Linked DNA regions of Homo sapiens: regions 2, 3, 4, 5, 6 and 7 are each linked to region 1. Evidence: promoter capture Hi-C in 16 types of primary human blood cells and fetal thymus (Javierre and others, 2016). All regions are on one chromosome and are shown on one strand. Each heading gives the region's core, a stretch centred on a gene start or on the middle of the fragment in contact. The rest is flanking DNA. Distances are from core to core; before and after follow the strand shown.

Evidence for each region. The method cuts DNA at HindIII sites, captures the fragments that hold promoters and counts their contacts. A CHiCAGO score of 5 or more calls a contact.
Region 2: a fragment that was not itself captured here is called in contact with the fragment with the promoter of CCDC86 in region 1 in 6 of 17 cell types (total CD4 T cells, naive CD4 T cells, activated CD4 T cells and 3 more); the score reaches 10.0 in total CD4 T cells.
Region 3: a fragment that was not itself captured here is called in contact with the fragment with the promoter of CCDC86 in region 1 in 12 of 17 cell types (naive CD4 T cells, naive CD8 T cells, total CD4 T cells and 9 more); the score reaches 15.5 in naive CD4 T cells.
Region 4: the fragment with the promoter of DDB1 here is called in contact with the fragment with the promoter of CCDC86 in region 1 in 6 of 17 cell types (naive CD4 T cells, non-activated CD4 T cells, total CD4 T cells and 3 more); the score reaches 13.5 in naive CD4 T cells.
Region 5: a contact is called between a fragment that was not itself captured here and the fragment with the promoter of CCDC86 in region 1, in 2 of 17 cell types (naive CD4 T cells and total CD4 T cells). The highest score is 6.2, in naive CD4 T cells.
Region 6: a fragment that was not itself captured here is called in contact with the fragment with the promoter of CCDC86 in region 1 in 1 of 17 cell types (naive CD8 T cells); the score reaches 5.4 in naive CD8 T cells.
Region 7: a fragment that was not itself captured here is called in contact with the fragment with the promoter of CCDC86 in region 1 in 9 of 17 cell types (naive CD4 T cells, total CD8 T cells, fetal thymus and 6 more); the score reaches 10.3 in naive CD4 T cells.

The regions. Positions count from the first base shown.
Region 1 is chr11:60,840,385-60,843,591 of GRCh38, reverse strand. CCDC86 (coiled-coil domain containing 86) reads right to left here and starts at 1,479. Exons shown (of 4, transcript NM_024098.4): 1 at 710-1,479. The coding sequence starts at 1,467. It overlaps CCDC86-AS1 (CCDC86 antisense RNA 1), which reads left to right. Exons shown (of 2, transcript NR_182293.1): 2 at 1,612-1,786. RefSeq lists enhancers at 1,054-1,283, 1,190-2,389. The HindIII fragment of the contact is 9,112 bases long and covers 1-3,207 here.
Region 2 is chr11:61,198,009-61,200,996 of GRCh38, reverse strand. LOC124902678 (a long non-coding RNA gene) reads right to left here. Exons shown (of 4, transcript XR_007062691.1): 4 at 127-1,875. Among named protein-coding and RNA genes, the nearest start is that of PGA3, 4.0 kb to the left of the region's middle. The HindIII fragment of the contact is 4,291 bases long and covers 1-2,988 here.
Region 3 is chr11:61,153,813-61,156,778 of GRCh38, reverse strand. All of the region lies in intron 1 of VPS37C (VPS37C subunit of ESCRT-I), which reads left to right. Among named protein-coding and RNA genes, the nearest start is that of VPS37C, 6.1 kb to the left of the region's middle. The HindIII fragment of the contact is 5,088 bases long and covers 1-2,966 here.
Region 4 is chr11:61,331,815-61,334,621 of GRCh38, reverse strand. It overlaps DDB1 (damage specific DNA binding protein 1), which reads left to right and starts at 1,517. Exons shown (of 27, transcript NM_001923.5): 1 at 1,517-1,714. The coding sequence starts at 1,654. It overlaps TKFC (triokinase and FMN cyclase), which reads right to left and starts at 1,394. Exons shown (of 18, transcript NM_015533.4): 1 at 1,293-1,394; 2 at 1-2. RefSeq lists enhancers at 910-1,432, 1,433-1,955 and a silencer at 1,255-1,514. The HindIII fragment of the contact is 9,653 bases long and covers 1-2,359 here.
Region 5 is chr11:61,312,416-61,315,211 of GRCh38, reverse strand. It overlaps DDB1 (damage specific DNA binding protein 1), which reads left to right. Exons shown (of 27, transcript NM_001923.5): 13 at 726-904; 14 at 1,002-1,165; 15 at 1,243-1,350; 16 at 1,506-1,713. Among named protein-coding and RNA genes, the nearest start is that of VWCE, 18 kb to the right of the region's middle. The HindIII fragment of the contact is 4,082 bases long and covers 1-2,796 here.
Region 6 is chr11:61,262,195-61,264,981 of GRCh38, reverse strand. VWCE (von Willebrand factor C and EGF domains) reads left to right here. Exons shown (of 20, transcript NM_152718.2): 18 at 1-26; 19 at 405-495. Among named protein-coding and RNA genes, the nearest start is that of PGA5, 22 kb to the right of the region's middle. The HindIII fragment of the contact is 9,219 bases long and covers 1-2,787 here.
Region 7 is chr11:61,116,929-61,119,942 of GRCh38, reverse strand. CD5 (CD5 molecule) reads right to left here. Exons shown (of 11, transcript NM_014207.4): 3 at 1,463-1,768; 4 at 966-1,028; 5 at 368-709. Among named protein-coding and RNA genes, the nearest start is that of CD5, 16 kb to the right of the region's middle. The HindIII fragment of the contact is 5,023 bases long and covers 1-3,014 here.

The DNA.
Region 1 (3,207 bases), core at 230-2,729:
GTGCCTGCCCCTTAAGAAGGTCGCAATCCAATTCAAGGTGGATCTACAGGGATTGGGTAAAGGGGTTTTTTGCACACAGGCTTCGGAATCAGATCTGTGCTCAGGTCCTGTGCCTACCACTCATTTAGCCTTGGTTTCCTCACACAAAAAACAGGAATAATAACACCGCCTGCTTCACAGGGCTGACGTGCAGATTAAGCGTGATGACACATGCTGTTCCATGTTTGAAAGGCTGTTGACTGGTAAATCCTTATTAAGGCTGTTGACTGGTAAATCCTTATATAATCAGTGCTCAGTAATACTTTTTATCTTAAAGGCAAATAACTGTAATAGACTATATTGGATGAAGACCTCACTGCTTTGATCAAGTAATGGCTGGTTTACTTGCTTCTGCTTCTCTCACTAGAGAGGGCAGACAACGGTAAATGTCTGTTGAACGAATACAGACCTGAGGTGCTACAGGAGAGGCCCATAGGGACCCTGAGGAGGAAAGGCATCAGAGAAATTGATCTTTGAGGGCCTGGCCCCACCCTCTCCGGGATCCCAGGGCATTTTACCACATTCTGATTGTAATTACCTGTTTGCTAACATCCCCACTAACGTGAGCTCTCTCTAACCCTGGGGCTATTCTCCAGGCTGCAGCAGGGCAAAGGCGGGGTCCCAACACCATAGAGAACGCCACCCCTGTCCATGCTGTCCCCCACTTCACCTTTTCTTGGAGCGGTCCTTCCACACTCGCCCCGATTTGGGCTTCCCCTTCGGGATTACAGGAAGCTCCTCTTTATTCAACTTCTTGGACGCTGGGGCCTGGGATGAAGAACCTTTTCGCTTCTTTGCCCCGAAGCCGCCTGTCACCGTCTCCCCAGCTGGAGGTGGCTTGCTCGGCTCATGCTGACCCCGGGGGGAGCCAGGTGCCCTGGGTGTCAGCTCCAGTAGTGGCTGAGAGGGCTCCGGACCGGGAGCTTGCTGACCGGGGTAAGGCTCTGGTGATCCTGGGACCGGCGGTAGCTGATGCTGGGGGGCCCCCGGGGTCAGCTCCTCCTTATTCTGGGCCAACTCCGAGGCCAGTACTCCCTGGTCCTGAGAACACTTTGGTGCCTCCTCACTTGGCTTCGGCTGACATCGTGGGGATTCAGGACTGTACTCTGGCTGTCTTTGAGGCGACTCCAGGTGTAGGTCTTGCTGACGCTGGGGGGACGCTGCGCCTGGCTCTGGCTGCCCTTGGGGTGACTCCAAGCCTGCACCCTGCTGCAGACGGGGTGATCCTGGGCTTGTCTTCGGCGGCCTTTCGGGGGACCCCAGGCCAGCCCGCTGCACACTCGGAGGAGACCCGGGCTCCCTCGTTTCTTCTGGGTTCGACTCGAACTCCACAAGGGCCCGTCTCGTCCGCGAAACTGAGGTGAGGCTCTCGGGGGATTCGGGCCTTAGGCCTCCCAGCCGTCGGCTGCGCCTTAACGGTGTATCCATGGCTCAGCCGGTAAGTTTCCACACCCCTGCGCACGTGCAGCCCCCGCCGAAACCGGCGCCTTCCTATGACGTCAGGAGTCGCCGCGTCCGTGACGCACAGGAGGGGGGCTGTTGCTGAGGCGGCCATGTTGGTGAGGGGTGGAGAGGCGGGACCGGGGTTGGGGAGAGTGGGGCTCAGCATGCGCATGCGCAATTCGCGCGAGCGCAGTCAACATGTGATTGATGAGCCAGTCTTTTTCCTGGGATTCGCTTTTGCCTTTCTTGCAAAGTTTCCTGGGGAAAGAAGAGCGAGCAAGTAGAAAAGGGAAAGTGGGAGGACCCATTTCAGGGAGAGAACAGAGTCGAAAAAAGGTCCGAGGAGCCCATAGGCAAGGCCCAGTGGATGTTTTGCAGCCAACTCCGGTGCAGTTGGGCAGAGTCCTGCCCTCCTTGGGCCTGTTTTCTCATTTGTAATAGGGGTCATTTTGCACTAGCTTCGTGCATCCCAAATGATCCTGTCAGAGTCCTCCTCCCACCTACCTGAGGGACTGCTACCTGGGGGTCCTGGAGGTGGAAGATCGGTCTTTTCTGTGTTAATTGTTCACACTCTTGATTCTTCCGTCCTGTGCTTCCGTATATAATCCATAGCTCTCCCTCCCTTTTCAGCGTTTTCAACGTTTGTGAGGGAAGTTGAGGTACCAATAAGATGCACCACCTTTGTCCTGTGGCTCACCTGGGCCCTCGACCAGCTGCATATCCTCCCACGTCCCTCTTCTTCTACCCCAGTTCTAGAAACGGGTTGGATCATCTCCGATCTTCCTTTCAGCCCAGACAGTGGTTTTTGCTCGTGTGTGAACCTGCTTCGCCTCCCCTCCCTTCCCTTGCTATTCACCTGTAAATGTACTTTGCTTACTAAGCACTTTGGGACCTCACCAGTGAGCAGGTGTTGACTTCTGGACCTCCCAAGGCCTAGAGAAGACTCTCGGGATGTGGGGTTGGGGAATGTGGGGCTGTGGAGACTTTCGTGTGAGACCTAGGAGTGGGGCTTTGATTTACTTACAGCATGCTTCTTAGGAAGAACATCTTGGAAGTGGCCCAGTTGTGTAATTCTTGGAACTGCCTGGGGTTGGCCATTAAAGGTCCCAGGGCCCCGTCTGACATTCCAGTGGTTTCTTTTAGAAACCATTGTTTCTCCAGCTGCGGGCTTGTGAGAGGGCCTGGGAAATTGTCCAAGAATATCAGGGATCAGAGTGTCCTCATCTTCCTCATGTTCCTGAGTCAAGGAGACCCCTGCAGGGGGGCTTTGCCTGCCTCACTGCTCCTCTCCGGCCATGCAGCTGTCCACAGCAGAAGCAGCCGGGACACCTCCTTGCCCAGCTCTTCCACCCCCCAACTGTCAGAGGAGTGAGTTCCATTCAGTTCCTTAAATGCCCTGCCCCTGCCTGGAGACCCCAATGATCTGACACTCAGAACCAAGCCCGGCAGGTGTTGCCAGAGTGCTGGAGGAGACTGTATGCCCCTCTGCCCTGCTCCAGTCCCCCTTGGCTTGCCCTGCCTCCTAAGCTCTTGTCCCCAGCTGGAGGGATCACTCTCCAGTGCCGATTGGATCATATCCTAGTCTAGCCTGAAATACTTCAGAGGGTGATCTCAGGTTTTCACCAGAGAGAGGGAGATGTGTTTTAGAGGAGGCCTTTGGGTGGCCCCCAGACATTTGGAGGCACTTTGTCAACCTCAGCATCAGATGGGCTCTGGCCCAGAACC
Region 2 (2,988 bases), core at 160-2,659, 360 kb before region 1:
TGAGTATTGAGGAGTGGGCAGTGTGGATTAGTTCAGGGACAGTGGTGGTTGGTAGAAAACACATTGACATTACAGACTCCCCTGTTAGTTGACATCTTTGTGCCCCAAATGTGAATCCTGGGCCCATTTTCTTTTGTTTTCTTTTCTTTTTTTTTAACTGTGAATCTCACTCCAGTATGACTAGCCCTTGTATTTTCCACGTTCATGTCTTCTGGTGCCTCCTTCTCTTCCTCTTTCTTTCCTCCCTCTCAAGCCTCTCTCTCTGTTTTATGAGACAGGGTCTTATTCTGTCACTCAGGGTAGAGCGTAGTGGGGTGATCATGGCTTACTGCAGCCTCAGCCTCCCACGCTCAATTAGTCCTCTGGCCTCAGGCTCTGAGTAGCTGGGATGAAAGGCATGAGCCACTACACCGAGCTAACTTTTGTATTTTCTGTAGAGACAGGGCTTCACTATGTGGCCCAGGCTGGTTTCGAACTCCTGGGCTCAAGCGATCTTCCTGCCTCAGCTTCTCAAAGTGCTGGGATTACAGTGAACCACACTGCACCTGGCCCTCTCTCTCTTTATGGATACATAATATTTTACATATTTTTTTTGGGTACATGTGATATTCTGTTACAGGCATAGAAAGAGTAATGATGAAGTCAGGGTATTTGGAGTATCCATCACCTAAGTATGGGTTGATCCTAGCACTCATGTGAAGAACCTGATGGTCCTGAAGATGCTGCCTAAGTTCTGGGGGCACCAGATGGAATCCCCTCACTCAAGGCTGCCACCAGATGGAAGGGAGGGAGCTTGGAGCCCAAGGATGGGCACTGATTTTGGGGGCACAGTTTGTCTGGGGCCCACATGGGAATTTTGAGCAGAGAAGTATATTTGGGAAGCAGAAGGAAGATTCCCCAGGCAGAAACCTGCAAGCCCCTTTACACATTCATTCAAATGCCTTATTGTGCACTTGCTGTGTACCGTGCAGGGATGCTCTAGCTGCAGAGGGTACATCCCTGAGCATGGTAGGACTAGGCCGTGCCTTTGGCGCATTTGTGGTCAGTTGAAGGGAAAGCTGGTGTGGAAGGGGCTCTTCCTTTCCACCTGGATGGATATTTGGATCACATTGAGGGGAAGCTCTCAGATTGGTGAAGATGATAATGTTTCTCCACATTAGAGATTTTAGCACCCTGAGGGACGCTGGCATGCTTGCTGACACCAATTCAGGGGTATGGCAGAGAGACTGTAGGATGGCCCCCAATTATTCATGCTGCTGGTGTTCACATCCCTGCGTAATCCCCTCCCCTTTTGTGTAGGCAGGACTTGCTTCTAGCCAACAGGATACAGCAAAGTAGATGGGATGTTGCTTTTGCGATGACATTATACAGGCTTGTAGCTTGTGTCTTGCTAGCACACTGTCTGTATAGACTCTTCCTCTTGCTGGCTCTGATAAAGAAAGCTGCCCTATAAAGAGGCCCAAGGGGAAGGACCCAAGGGTGGCCTCCAGCTGACAGCCAGCAAGGAACTCAGGCCTTCAGTGTGACAATCTACAAGTAACTGAATCCTGCCAGCAAGCGTGTGAGCATGGAAGCAGATCCTTCTCTAGTCAAGCCTCAGATGAGACCACAGACCAGGCTGACATCCCTGACTGACAGAGGCCTCAGCTGTACCGAGCCTGGATTCCTGACCCACAGAAACAGTGAGATAGTGAGTCAGTGTGAGTTGTTGTAAGTCATTCAGTGTGTGTTAACTTGTCATCAGCAATAGAAAGCAGGACTGGAAACCTCTTGAAAACTCCAAAAAGATCCACCTGGTTGCCTCTTGCTCTTCCCTCTTTTGGGACCATTTCAGTGCTCTGCTAGGTGGTTTTCTGCTCAGGCAATATGAGTGATCTGAAAAGGGAGAAGGTGACGTTGTTGGTCAGGTCATCTGCAAACCTCCCTCAACATAGTAGTGCTTACATTTGTGTGCCTATTTGTGCTTTTCTGAATGCTTTGAATTATTTTAAAAAGAATTATTAAACTATTACTCCCACTTTTTCCCAACGGACATAGCTCAGAGGGGTTAAGTGATCAGTGCAGGTTCACATAACTAAGTAATGACACAGATGGGACCTGAACCTGGGTCTCAGGAGGCTCTGGTCCCTGGCCAGACTATGTGACTATGTACATCCACCTGGTTTCTGCTCATGGGTTAGTGTGTGACAGGAACATTCCATGATGGCTGCAGCCTCCATCCCAGGGGCACTTGGAGAAGCCATTCCACTCAGCCCCCTTGACCAGAAGAACCCTTGGGATGGAAAAGGGAATCCTGATTCTGCAACTACGTGCTCCCATGAGATCTGATTTTCAGCCAGGGCTGATCCGTGGCTGCCAGCAAGGAAGCCACATCATCTCATTGTACTAGACTGGCCCGGCTGAAAGATTAGACAACAACGTTTACTTTGCCATTAGCCCTGCCTGGCACTCAGTATGGTATTGCCTGGCTTTCAGGGGCACTGGTAGCAGTGTCTCCGATGCAGGGCAGCCCCTGCCAAGGGCACAGGTGTTCATAAATATTCCATGAACCAATCAAATCAAGCAATGGAATGAGATCTAAGGAACCTAGTCACGGCAAGCCTGAGACAGAGCACTTAAGCATGATAAATGTTATCGAGCTGGTCTGATAGGCATTGGGGCAGCTGGTCCCCTCGCAGTTTTCAATCAAGGTCTCACCCCAGGGACAGGATCTTCCAACACCAAAGAGAACATTGTGTTTTCCACTCCCCAGTCCCAGACCTGGGCTGCTTCTCCAGAGATGCCCGCAGGTTTTAAAAGTTAAATTGATGATAACTTTTTTGGCTCAAGTATAGAAGTAATACATTATCATTGTAGATTATTTATAGGTAAATAAAATTTTTTAAATGACTTTTAACCCCACTACCCAGAACTAACCACCACTGGCGTAGTAAATGAATATATTGATTTACTTACAAATATAGGACCACAAGATATGGCACATGTTTT
Region 3 (2,966 bases), core at 75-2,574, 310 kb before region 1:
ACTGTATACTTAAAAATGATTAAAATGGTAAATTTTGTTACGTATAAAACAGTTTTTAAAAATAGAGGATTTAAAAATTACGGTATATCTCTTAAAAAGTTTTTTACTTCTAAACAATTTGTGTCTTTATATTGAAAGTGGGCTTCTTGTAGGCAGCATATAGATGGGTGGTGTTTTTGTTTTTGTTTTTTTTTGAGACAGAGTCTCCTTCTGTTGCCCAGGCTGGAGTACAGTGGTGTGATCTTGACTCACTGCAACTGCCTCCTCCTGGGTTCAAATGATTCTCATGCCTCAGCTTCCTGAGAGCTGGGATTACAGGCGTGTGCCTACCATGCCCAGCTAATTTTTTGGTATTTTTAGTAGAGACGGGATTTCACCATGTTGGCTAGGCTGGTCTTGAACTCCTGACCTTAAGTTATCTACCCACCCCTCCCAAAGTGCTGGGTTTACAGGCGTGAACAACTGCACCTGGCCGGGGGTTGCTTTTTAATCCAATCTCACAAGCTGCATTTTAATTGGGGTGTTAAGACTATTTAGATTTAATGTGGTTATTGATATGGTTGAGTTTAAATCTACCTTCTTGCTATTTGTTTTCAATTTGTCCCATGTGCTTTGTTCCCTTTTTCCTTTTTTATGACTTCTTTGGGATCGAATAATTTTTATGATTCCACTTTGTTTCCTTTGTTGGTTCATTAATTCGAACACTTTTTAGTGGTTGCTTTAAGGTATATAGTATGCATCTTTAATTTGCTACAGCCTATCTTCAAGCGATATTATACCACTTTAGTGTAAGAATCTTGCAATAGTTTACTTTCATTTCCTTCCTCCTGGACTTTGTATTGTTGTCACCTGTTTTACTTCTACACGTGCCATAAATCCCACAACACATTGTTATTTTTGCTTTAAATAGTCAATTATTTTTTAAGGAGATGAAAATGTAAAGTTCTTTTATATTTACTTGTTCGTTTAACATTTTTGGTGCTCTTTATTCCTTCATGTAGATCCACATTTCTATCTTGTTTCATGTTCCTTCTGACTTGAGGACATCCTTTTAACATTTCTTGTGGTGCTGGTCTGTTAGTGATGGATTCTTTCAGCTTTTGGGTGTCTAGAGAAGTCTTTATTTTGGCTTTGTTTTTGGAAGGCATTTTCCCTGTATAGAATTCTGGATTAACTATTTTTTTTTTCAGTGCTTTAAAGATGTTCCAGTGTCTTTTGCTTGCATTGTTTCATATCAGTAGTCTGCTATTTTTCTTTCCTTTTTTCTTCTTGCTTTTTAAGAGGCAGAATCTCACTCTGTCATCCAGGCCAGAGTGCAGTGGCGTGATCATAGCTCACTGTGGCCTCAAACTTCTGGGCTCAAGTGATCCTCCCACCTCAGGGTCCCTAGTAGCTAAGACTACAGGTGTGTATCACCATGCCTGGGTAGTTGTTTTTTAATGATTATTCTTTATTTTTGTAGAGATAGGGTCTTGCTATGTTGCTCAGGCTGGTCTTGACTTCCTGGCCTCAAGTGATCCTACGGCATCAGCTTCCCAAAGTGATGAGATTACAAGCATGAGCCACCACACCTGGTCTGTTTATTTTTATTTTTTGCTCTTCTGTTTGTAATGTATCTTTTCTCCTTATAACTGCTTTTCTTTCTCCCTGTCCCCCCGCCTTTTTTTTTTTTTTGGAGACAGAGTCTCACTCTGTCATCCAGGCCAGAGTGCAGTGGCGTGATCATAGCTCACTGCAGCTTCAAACTTCTGGGCTCGAGGGATCCTCCCACTTCAGCCTCCCAAGTAGTTGGGACCACAGGTGTGTGCCACCATGCCAGGCAAATTTTTTATTTTTTGTAGAGACAGGGTCTCACTATGTTGCCCAGGGTGGTCGAAAACTCCTGGGCTCAAGCGATCCTCCCACCTCGGCCTTCCAAAGTGCTGAGATTGCAGGTGTGAGCCACTGTGCCTGGCCCTAACTGCTTTTCTAACTGAGTTTAAACAATGTAATGATGATGTGCTTTTGTGTAGTGTAATTTTCTTTGTGTGTTTTGTGCTTGGGTTCATTGAGTTTTTTGGATTTGTGGGTTTATAGCTTTCATCAGATTTGGAAATTTTTCAGTCAGTAACTCTGCAAATATTTTTTTTATTCCCTTTTCTCTTTCCTCTCTTTCGGGGACTCCAGTTACATGTATGTAAGGGTGCTAGAGGTTGCTCCATAGCTCTCTGATCATTCATTTTTCCCAGTAGTCCCTTTTTCTTTTCTCTCTGTGGTTTGTTCTGGTTAGTTTCTATTGCTCTTTCTTCAAATTCACTGGTCTCTTCTGCATTGTCTAATCTGCTGATATTACCTTTCAGTATACTTTTTATCACAGACATTGTAGTTTTCATCTCTAGAAGTTTGATTTGGGTCTTTTAAATATCTTCCCTGTCTCTAACATGCTTAATCTTTCTTTTAGCTTCTTGAACATATGGAATATAGTTTTAGGAACTGTTTTAATGTCCTTGCCTACTAATTCCATTATCTGTGTATTTTTTGGGTCTGTTTCTATTGCTTCCCTCATTATGAGTCTTATTTTCTTGATTCTTTGTATGTCTGGTAATTTTTATTGTATATCAGATGTTGTGAATTTTACCTTGTGGGGTGCTGGATATTTTTGTATTTCTAGAAATGTTCCTGGCATTGTTTTAGGACACTGTTAAGTTACTTGGGAACAGTTTGATTCTTTAAAGCTGCTCTCAAGGTTTGTTAGTTGGAATCAGAACAGCCTTAGGCCCAGGCCTGATTTTTCCTCACTACCAAGGCAATTCTGTCCTTAGTGCTTTACCAATGTCCTGTGAATGATGAGGTTTTTCCACTGTGGCTGGTGGGCACGCAAGACTATTTCTGTTTCAGTTTGAGCTCCAAGGATTGTTGCCTTGGACTGGTATAGATCAGTACCAGCTGAGAACTGGAGGGGGACCCTCTGTAGGTTTCTGGGTTCT
Region 4 (2,807 bases), core at 268-2,767, 490 kb before region 1:
ACCTGCAGGAGTGGGTAACGATACAAGCTGCGGAAGGAACTCGCAGTCGACTGGCACAATCACGCCTTCAGCACCCTAGTAATTAGGGAGCTGCCCCAGACTTCGGTCCAAGTCCAAACTCTAGTACATGGGCTACGGATGGAGAAGAGTGTGGGGCTGACCAAGGTTCATGCCTGCACTTCACTGCCAGAAGACAGATCAATCCATGTCAAGCACAGGTCTGCCTTTATGTCCAGGAACAGCACCCACTTCATCACTAAAGGACAGTGATCCTCAGAATAACTATCTTTTACACGGGCATCACATGCAGCGAAAAAGTTAACAAAGCTCGTCACACGCTTGCCCTCACTGGCCTTGGCACCAAAAGGGAAGGGAATGGGGGGAGCTAGCCAGGTTTGTGACCCATTTTACTTCTGGGAAACAGACTCAGAGAGCTCTAGGGACTTGTCCAAGGTAATACAGGTAACAGCCAGAATCTAAACCAATGTCTAGTTTTTCTACAGAGTGTGTTTTTACTACTGATAATTCAGTGCCTCCAAAGTCAGGCAGAGTCTCTGCTATGGGAAAGGCAAGATGTAAACCACGATGACTTTCTAGCTTTTCCTCAGTTCAGCCTGGTTCAGCAGCGTGTTGGCCTCTGTGTGGGTGCACAATAGGAAGAATCAACATAGCTCTGCCTCAGCCTACTTGGGGTTGTGGGGAGGGTCTTAGGTAAACCAATTCCTCCCTAAGCCTCAGCTTCCTCATCTGTAAAATGGGGGTTGGCTCCTCTCTGGCATTCTGCGAGTGTGCCAAGCCACGTGGTATTCCTCTTGTTCCCGGGGAGCCTGTTTGATGTGGGGTACCCTGGAGGCTGCAGGGCTGACGGCTCTCCTGGCTCATTAAGGTTCCCTACGGAGAAATACTGGTTTTGTGTTTGAGGTTCGAATTTGTAGAGCAATAGGGGCACTAATAACGTTGGGCAAGCAGACCGGTGGGCCCTTTGAAGTCTGAAGAATCAACGCGCAAAAGGGAGGAGGTGAGCAGGTGGTCGTTCAAACGTCAGGCGAGGGCACCAGCTGGATCTGGAGGAACTGAGACAGTGAAAGGAAAGCAGGCAAGGTTCTAGTCTGGGATATGCACGAATCGCGGTCTCCCTTCCCTCTCTATGCCTCCGCAGTCCTTCCCGTTCCCAAAGGAGGAACAGCCCGAGGGCTCCTGGAGCAACGGAAGGAGGACTGGATGCGGGGAAGGGCAAAGGGCGCGGAACGGGGTGGGGAGTCTGCGGGCGAGCTCGGAGGACACTGGCGCACCTCCCCCGCCGGCTCACGGCCGCATCCGCCACATCCGAAGGCGCCGCGACTTCCCGGAGACCCCGAAGCGTGCGCTCTCATCCGGGTCCTGCGGGCGCTGGCGGAAAGAGGCGAGGCGGTGCCTCCGGGGGCGGGGCCTCCTTCGGTTGGCGGCCTCGGGCTTCGGGAGTCCTCCAAGAGGCCAGGTGAGGCCGTCCCGTGATGCCCCGCGCCCCGGCCGCTCTGGCCTGCAACGTGTCTCTGGGGCGGAGGCAGCGGCAGTGGAGTTCGCTGCGCGCTGTTGGGGGCCACCTGTCTTTTCGCTTGTGTCCCTCTTTCTAGTGTCGCGCTCGAGTCCCGACGGGCCGCTCCAAGCCTCGACATGTCGTACAACTACGTGGTAACGGCCCAGAAGCCCACCGCCGTGAACGGCTGCGTGACCGGTGAGGCTGCCGGGGCCGGAGACCCCGGCGAGTGAGGGAGTTGGGGGGAGCCGCGGCCTAGGGAGGCCCGCCGCCCCGGGGGCGGCCGGGCAGGAGTGGGCCCGGCGAATGGAAGGCGCTGGCGGCCGAGGAACCTCCCCCAGCACCGCGACCTCGAAAGAGTCGTCCCTGTACGCGCTTTTTGGGGGTTGGAAGCCGCTCTCGAGGGTCCCCTTTCGTCCTGGGGAGGTCATTCGGCCTCGAGAACAGGGCGGGCCCAGTGAGACAGAGGAGTGTGAGTTGGTTGTGCGGTGTCGTTTGGGCCCGGAGATTGGCTTTCTGTGGCCAGGAAAAGGGGAGGTGGTAATGACGACTTTGGGGTCAAGATTTTCCTGTGGGGAAGTCTGGGGGGCCCAGGAGGTGGAGGGATGTGAGGAATGCCCGCATTATCCCACAGAGGGAGAGGAGCCCTCTTCAGGCTAACCCCTTTGCCTGGGGCTGTTGTTTACATGAGGGCCCTGCTGGAGAAGAGGGTTTGGTTTGCCTGGCCCAGTGCTGGGTTTGCCTTGTTGACGATGCGCTTGGATTGTTAAGGACACCGATGTTCAGAACCCGGGAAGAGTCATCTTAACCCACATTCTCAGCTGAATATGCAGACCCCAAGCTTGCATGTTTATATACACCCTAATCATGATTCCAAAACAAAACTGTTGTTCAGAGTTGGAGGTAGCTGAGTGTGGATGGAGGTATTGGTAGACTGCCAGGAGGGCAGGGGGTGTGGACAAAACAGTGTTTTCATATAAAGCTCTGGGACTTCTTCATTTGACTTGGTCTGTCAGATAAAAGTTTTGTGAGACTTTAGATGAAGACTGGAAGAAGTGAACACTTTCTCCGGCATTCTCAATTAGAGCCTGCCACTGTAACTGTAATAGAGTAAAATTGGAGGGGCAAGAGGCATGAGAAGGGATTACGCAGTCATTGTCATTTGGAGGACACACGGCTCTTAGGTCCAGTCCAGTTTTCTTAGTCTGATTAGGGAAGTAGCTTTGTTGAATGCATGAACTGAGACTCTTTGAGGTGCCGGATTTGGCAAGAAGGGGAGTAGCTGGAGGGA
Region 5 (2,796 bases), core at 189-2,688, 470 kb before region 1:
TAAATGGCTCATACACAGTAAAGAACTTAGATATTTTAGAGGTCTGATTTGGGGGTTGAGAAAAACTGCTAAGACTGGTGGTCACAGTCAACATGGTGGCTCACGCCTGTAATCCCAGCACTTTGGGAGGCCAAGGCAGGTGGATCATGAGGTCAGGAGTTCAAGATCAGCCTGGCCAACATGGTGAAACCCCATCTCTACTCAAAAAACAAAAGTTAACCAGGCATGGTGGCATGCGCCTGTAATCGCAGCTACTTGGGAGGCTGAGGCAGGAGAATGGCTTGAACCTGGGAGGCGTAGGTTGTGGTGAGCTGAGATTGCACCACTGCACTCCAGCCTGGGCAACAGAGAGAGACTCTGTCCCAAAAAAAAAAAAAAAAAAAAAAAAGCCAAAAAACTGGTGGTCACAGGGTCTTACTCTATTCATATCTTCCCACAGGATGCAGTTTGTATTACCCAAGTAAGTCTCAATTAGAATGAAATAGGCCTTTTCCCCACCAGCTGTAGGTTTGTAAGCTGTAAGCTACTTTTAAGCTGGCCTCCTTCAGGCATTCATGCAAAAATGACATCTATTGTAATCATTAGCAGGACTTTGGGGAATAAGAAATAGAAGCCTCATGTAGCTTATTCGTAGGGCTCTATTAGGGCTGCATTTACCACCTTTCCACTCCTGTGTGGACCCTGGCAGATGCTTGGAGACATTTGTTCATCTGCTGTTTATCTAGATCACTTCAGCATCGGTGAGGTTGGTCTCTCAAGAACCCAAAGCTCTGGTCAGTGAATGGAAGGAGCCTCAGGCCAAGAACATCAGTGTGGCCTCCTGCAATAGCAGCCAGGTGGTGGTGGCTGTAGGCAGGGCCCTCTACTATCTGCAGATCCATCCTCAGGAGCTCCGGCAGATCAGGTGTGTGTGTTTTTCTGTCTGCTCGCTTTCCTCCTCTTTTCTCTAGGACTTCTTTGAGCCTTGGATTCCTTCCTCTGCCATATTCTTCTTTGTTCAGCCACACAGAGATGGAACATGAAGTGGCTTGCTTGGACATCACCCCATTAGGAGACAGCAATGGACTGTCCCCTCTTTGTGCCATTGGCCTCTGGACGGACATCTCGGCTCGTATCTTGAAGTTGCCCTCTTTTGAACTACTGCACAAGGAGATGCTGGGTGGAGGTATGTGTCATTTAGGGACCTGGGTTGGGACAGAGTCAAAATGTGGAACAAGAACATAATGTCCCCCTTTCTCACAGAGATCATTCCTCGCTCCATCCTGATGACCACCTTTGAGAGTAGCCATTACCTCCTTTGTGCCTTGGGAGATGGAGCGCTTTTCTACTTTGGGCTCAACATTGAGACAGGTGAGAGTAGTATTTTGAGTGAGGGACTCTTTCAAAAATAGAGTATTAGAATTACACAGAATTCTTAGTCCCAGGGTTCTGCTTTTGAACTTTCACAGGCCAGCTTTTTGTCCTGTTTTCTTTCTTCCTTTCTCCTGATGTCATTCTCTCTGTAGGTCTGTTGAGCGACCGTAAGAAGGTGACTTTGGGCACCCAGCCCACCGTATTGAGGACTTTTCGTTCTCTTTCTACCACCAACGTCTTTGCTTGTTCTGACCGCCCCACTGTCATCTATAGCAGCAACCACAAATTGGTCTTCTCAAATGTCAACCTCAAGGAAGTGAACTACATGTGTCCCCTCAATTCAGATGGCTATCCTGACAGGTGAGTCTCTTTTTCCTTATTTAATGAGAGCTATTGATTGAGGGGGTCATGATGTTTTCCTCAAACCCTTACCTCAAAGCCTTTTTCCGGTGTCAAAATCATAACTGAGATGGGAAGTATAGTGCAGAGGTTCTCAAAACTGGCTACCCAATAGAAACACTTGGGAAGTTTTTTAAAACTACAGGATTTTTGGAATCCTCAGTGGGTCTGAGGTTGAGCTCTGGAATCTGTATTTTCAGAAAACTTATCAGGTGATTCAGATGACTGTTTCATAATCCCTAATTTAGAGATCATTTTGTGTCCCTCTAGAGCAGGAATTCTCAAAGGGTGTCCCCAACCAGCAGCTACAGCATTACTTGGGAACTTGTTAGAAATGCAGATTCTCTGGCTGGGCATGGTGGCTCACACCTGTAGTCCCGGCACTTTGGGAGGCCGAGGCAGGAGGATCATTTGAAGTCAGGAGTTTGAGACCAGCCTGGCCAACATGGTGAAACCTTGTCTCTAATAAAAATACAAAAATTAGCCAGGTATGGTGGTGTGTGCCTGTAATCCCAGCTACTTGGGAGGCTGAGGCAGGAGATTCCCTTGAAATTGGAAGGTTGCTGGGTGCAGTGGCTCATGCCTGTAATCCTAGCTCTTTGGGAGGCTGAGGTGGGTGGATCACCGGAGGTCAGGAGCTCGAGACCAGTCTGGCCGACATGGCGAAACCCCATCTCTACTAAAAATACAAAAGTTAGCCGGGTGTGGTGGCAGGCACCTGTAATCCCAGCTACTCAGGAGGCTGAGGCAGGAGAATCACTTGAACCCAGGAGGCAGAGTTTTCAGTGAGCCAAGATCCCACCATTGCGCTCCAGCCTGGTGACAAGAAAAAAAACTGTCTTAAAAAAAAAGAAACTGGGAGGTGGAGGTTGCAGTGAGCTTAGATTTCACCGCTGCACTCCAGCCTGAATAACAGAGCTGAGACTCTGTCTCAAAAAAAAAAAAAAAAAAAAGAGAGAGAGAGAGAGGAAAGAAAAGAAAGAAATGCAGATGCTCAAGCCCCACCCTGACTCACAGAATCAGAAACTCTGGGAGGGGGCCCAG
Region 6 (2,787 bases), core at 275-2,774, 420 kb before region 1:
AACCCTGCACCCGGTGCACGTGCCAGGTGAGCTGGGCCTGGGAACCCAGGAGCGGCCCCGCCAGAGGGCAGCTTCTTGCCTTTTGTCCCTTTGCAAAACATGGAGCCCTTTAGCCAGCATAAATCCATCCTCCTGCCATCCTCCGCCTTTAATTAACTGCCAGAATATCTTTGGTTTTGACCATCTCCTCCCTCTGTGGAAGTCCAGAGGGAGAAGTGGTTTCCCAAAGGGGGTCCTGCCATAGCTGGCTTTACCTGTTCTCCAGGCGAGGGCTCAGGCACTGCAGCCTCTGTCCTGGGATCTTTCCGTGGGTCCTGCTGCTGGTGCAAGAGGCCCTTGAGGGCACTGCCCAGGGCAGGCAAGATGCTCTGGGCTTCCTCATGGGGTTCCTTCTGCTTCCCCAGCTGGGAGAGGTGAGCTGTGAGAAGGTTCCCTGCCAGCGGGCCTGTGCCGACCCTGCCCTGCTTCCTGGGGACTGCTGCTCTTCCTGTCCAGGTAAGTGGGTCTCTGGGTCCTGGAGTTTCTCCGCCATCTTCTTCCATTTTACTTTTCTTCCCCGGTACATAGAACTTGTAAAGGGCTGGATAAGAGAAAGCCATGTTCAGAGAGGGAACACGGCTCGCGCAAGGTTGTACAGCTGTGCTGTGGCCTGCTGACCCTCATCCCGTGCTCATGATGCCACACACCATGATGTCTGTTTATTTGCACTCCCTTTTTCTTCTTCTTCTGCTTTTTTTTTTTTTTTTTTTTTTTTTTGAGACTGAGTCTCCCTCTGTCACCCAGGCTGGAGTGCAATGGCGCTATCTCACCTCACTGCAAGCTCCGCCTCCCGGGTTCACGCCATTCTCCTGCCTCAGCCTCCGGAGTAGCTGGGACTACAGGTGCCTGCCACTACGCCTGGCTAATTTTTTTGTATTTTTAGTAGAGATGGGGTTTCACCGTGTTAGCCAGGATGGTCTCGATCTCCTCACCTCGTGATCCGCCCGCCTCAGCCTCCCAAAGTGCTGGGATTACAGGCGTGAGCCACTGCGCCCGGCCTGCACTCCCTTTTTCTTCTTTATCCCCTTTCTTAACCTCTTCCTATGCTTTCTTCTTTATTTTAAATTACAACATGGGAACTGAGTCCGTTTTGCAGAAGAGTAATCTCTAATATGTGTTGAGCACCCACGGTGTGCCGGGACACCTCATGTGTCTACACCCCTGCAATACTCTTGTCATCCTCCTGTGCCAGGTGAGAAAACAGGCCCAGGCAGGTGAAGTGCTGTGCTCAAGATCACATAGCTGATTGGTAGTAGAGCCAGGGTTTCAGACTGGAGTCGATGCTTTTAGATAGGACAGTGGATTGATTCCCAAGAACTGACGCCACTGAACTCCAGCCTGGGCCACAGAGAGACACTGTCTCTAAACAACACAAAACACAACACAACACATATTTCTCCTGTCTAGCTGAGATTGTGTACCCTTTGACAATCATCTCCCCATTCCCCTCGCCCCTGCCAGCCTTCGTAACCACGATTCTATTCTCTGCTTCTTTGGCTTCAACCTTTTTAGATTCCACATAAAACTGAGATTTTGCAATAGTTGTCTTTGTGTGTCTGGCTTATTTCGCTTAGCATAATGTCCTCCAGTTTCATCCATGTTGTTGCAAATGACAGAATTTCCTTTTTTTTTTTTTTTTGAGGATTCTCACTCTGTCACCCAGGCTGGAGTGCAGTGGCGCGATCTCAGCTCACTGCAACCTTTGCCTCCCAGGTTCAAGTGGTTCTCTTGCCTCAGCCTCCTGAGTAGCTGGGATTATAGGCGCACACCACCATGCCCGGCTAATTTTTGTATTTTTAGTAGAGACAAGGTTTCGCCATGTTCGTCAGGCTGTTCTCGAACTTCTGACCTCAAGTGATCCACCCACCTCGGCCTCCCAAGGCACTGGGATTACAGGCGTGAGCCTGTAATTTCCTTCTTTTAAAAGGCTAAATAGTATTCCATTCTGGATAAAGAAATGTGGTATATGCACACAATGAAGTACTATTGATGGATGCTTAGGTTGGTTCCATAGCTTGGCTATTGTGAATAGTGTCACAGTGAACACAGGACTGCAGCTCTCTTCCCCAAACTGACTTTAAATCTTTTGGATAAATACTCAGCAGTGGGATTGCTGGATCTATTTTATGTTTTTTAAACTTCTAGGAAGACAGGGAATTTTTTTCACTGATGGTGGCCTGAATTCCCTTTTTTATAAAATATTTGTTTAACTCCTTTGACCTTTTGAAGAGTATGTTCTGTTTTCGGGGGCAGCTCTTCAGATCTGTGGATGATGAGCTTTTAGGGCGGGTGGCGCCAGGAATATCCATTGAGCCTTCAAATCCATCATGTTGGGGACATTATAGATTGTACTTCATTGTAACCACCACAAACCTCTCTGCATGCTAGTGGATATTAGTCCCCTGACTGTCTAGAGACTGATTGCTAGCTAATGTGCCAGGCAGCATACTGAGCATTTTATACCTTATTTAAATGTATTACCTCATTTAAATGTTCATGGAGTGTTCCAGCGTGGCTGCTATGTTATCTCCATTTTGCAGGTGGGGAAATGGAGGCTCAAAGAAGTTAAGTTTCTAGTTGGTGTGTAAGACTTAAGCCTAGGTCTCTCTTATTTCCTATCCTGTCCTCTTTCCCACCGTGCCCTCCTACCTCCACCTGGGGAAACTGAGACCCAAAGAGGTGACCTCCAGGTCTGGCGTGGTGGCTCACGCCTGTAATCCCAGCACTTTGGGAGGCTGATGTGGGTGG
Region 7 (3,014 bases), core at 312-2,811, 280 kb before region 1:
GTGCCCCATCTTTGGCACAAGCCATAATTCCTACCTAGACATTTTTTTTTCTCCCCCAGACCCACGAAGAGACCTTGCCTCCTCCTGGAAGTCCTGCCGACTCCCCTTCCCCATGTGGCAGCTGAGCCAGCGGTTCCTTTGGGCTTGGGGTGTGTAGCTTTGCAGAGATTACCAAGGCATTGAGTGTGGATGCATCCTCCCCACCCCAACCCTTGTTACCTCTTAGAGGCCAAGACCAGGCCTCCACTTCCCTTGTATTCTCCATAGTGCCCTGTGCTGCACACATGTTCCCTGACCTTCTGGGATGCTCTGTGACCCCACCTAGGGCAGCAGAAGGTGTCATGGGGCTTGGCCAGGTCTCACTTACCTGAGCAAAGGAGGGCAAGAACTCGGCCACTTTTCTGGGGCTTGATTTTCCTGAAGCAATGCTCCAGGGAGGTACAGCTTGAGTTCTGGATCTTCCATTGGATTGGCAAGGGCTGGTGTTCCCGTGGCTCCCCTGGGTCTTGGGCTCTGCCTGCCTCAGTCTCTGGCAGATGCTTCAAGAAGGAGCCACACTGGAGGTTGTTGCAGAGGAAGTTCTCCAGGTCCTGGGTCTTGTCCTGGGCCTCATAGCTGATGGTACCCCCCAGGCTGCCGCTGTAGAACTCCACCACGCCGGCACAGTGCTGGCCGCCAGACTGTGCCACCAGCTGCAGCCTGGGAGGAGCTAGGAGAGGAGAGAGCAGGAGGGGGAGCCACCCTGAGCGCCGAGGGCTTCCTGGGCACTCCTTGCTGTTTGGCCCCAACTTGTGGACAACTACTGACTAACGCTTAGCCTTGGGAGGTGATGGGGTCCCAAATATTGCGTAGAACACACCAATACTAAACATTTCCACCTTTGTCAGAAATTCCAATGTAACTGGGCATCCTGGGTTTTTATTTGCTAGCTCTGACTCCCTGTGGGGGGTTCAGAATCCTCTTACCTGTGGGCTCTGGAGTTGTGGTGGGCGGGGGCCTTGTCGTTGGAGGTGTTGTCTTCTGGGGTTCTGCAATGAGACACTCTGGTGAGGGAGGAATGGGTGGTGTGGGGAGGGCCGGGGGCAGCCAGCAGCCTTGAGAGGACCAGGAGCTCCTGGCATGAGTGCCGCTTGGCACACCAGGTCCACTTGACCCACACGTTGTCTCTAAGCCTCCTGCGAGGCGGGAAGTACCACCCCACTTCACAGATGGGAGAATGGAGGTTCAGAGGCGACGATGAAGTCAGTGATTGGCAGAACTAGGTCCTCCATTGCCATCCTACAGATGGGTGCTGGCCCCTTCCAGTCCCCCTCCTGGGTATGTGTCTTGGGGAGTGGTTATAAACTGGGGTCCCCCCACCCCTTCCACCAGCCTGCTCAGACCCTAGATCACAGGCCTCGGGCAGTCTCCTCGGGGCTGGCGCCCAGGCCCAGGGTGCCCGTGTGGCTGGCTAGTTACCCACCTAAGCAGGTCAGGCCCAGAGAGTGACACATGTCATTTCTGCTGTGGCTGCAGTTGGAGAAGGAGCCCAGTTGTCCGTAGCAGATGATTGAGCTCTGAGGTGTGTAGGTGACAAGGAAGGGGCCAAGGCTTAAGGGCACCCCACAGTTCAGCCGCTGGCAGACTTTTGACGCTTGACTGGGGTCCTCCCACTGCTTGGAGCTCCGGCCCCAGCTCTGGCTGCAAACCATGTGCCATCCGTCCTTGAGGTAGACCTCCAGCTGGCCCTGGCACTTCGAGTTGGAACGGGTGAGCCTTGCCTGGAAATCTGGGGGTCAGAAAGGTGTGGTGGGGGTCAGGCTGGGAGGGGTTCCCCACTGGCACCCCTCACTGCCCTCTCCCTAGGACGCCCAGTTGAGCTCCCTCCTGCCCCGTGGGCTGCCTGCCTTGCCCCTTGTGAGCTTCGTCCCTTCTGGGGCACTGCAGGGGCTTCCCAGAGGACCCTGACCCAGGCAGCCCCGAAGCTAGACCCAGGAGGGTGGGGCTCCAGATTTCAGAGTCAGAAGGGAGCTCAGATAAATGGGCAAGGTGTTCTCGGCACCCACTGTCCAGCAGGATGGCCCCTGTCCTGGAAATTCTGTCTCAAGGGGTCTGAGATTGGGGCTGGTGTCTGCTTTTTAAGAGATCTTTAAAAATTAATTTTAGGCCAGGTGTGGTGGCTCATGCCTGTAATCCCAGCACTTTGGGAAGCTGAGGCGGGCAGATCACCTGAGGTCAGGAGTTTGAGACCAGCCTGGCCAACATGGTGAAACCCCATCTCTACTAAAAAAAGAAAAAATACCAAAAATTAGCTGGGTGTGGTGGCAGGCGCCTGTAATCCTAGCTACTCGGGAGGCTGAGGCAGGAGAATTGCTTGAACCCGGGAGGCAGAGGTTGCAGTGAGCCAAGATCGCGCCACTGCACTCCAGCCTGGGTAACAGATCAAGATTCCATCTCAAAAAAAAAAAATTTTATTGAGGTAATTTTACATACAGTGAAATGCACTCATTTTAAGGATACTGTTCGATGGAATTTGACAAATGTATACATGCATGTAACCACCACCATAATCTAGATATGGAACATTTCCATCATCTAGAAAGTTCCCTAAGGCCCCTTTATAGTTAATTTCCCTGAATCTAGCCTCAGGCAAACACTGATCTGCTTTTTGTCACAAAAGATGAGTTTTGCCTGTGCTACAATGTCATAGACATGGACTCATACAGCATGGATTTTATTTTGTTTGATTTGGCTTTTTTCGCTTAGCATGTATTTGAGATTTAGCTATGTCACTGGACGCATAAGTAGTTCATTCCTTTTTATTGCCGAATGATAGTTCACTACACGGACATGCCAATTTGTTTTCCATTCACCATTTGATTTGTTTCCGGGTTTTGCCTACTATGAATAAGGCTGCTGTGAACATTCACATACAGGTCTTTGTGTGGGCGTTTCCATTTCTCTTGGGTAAATACCTAGGAATGGAATTGCTGGGTCATGGGTAGACATGTGTCTTGTGTGATTTTATCAAACTC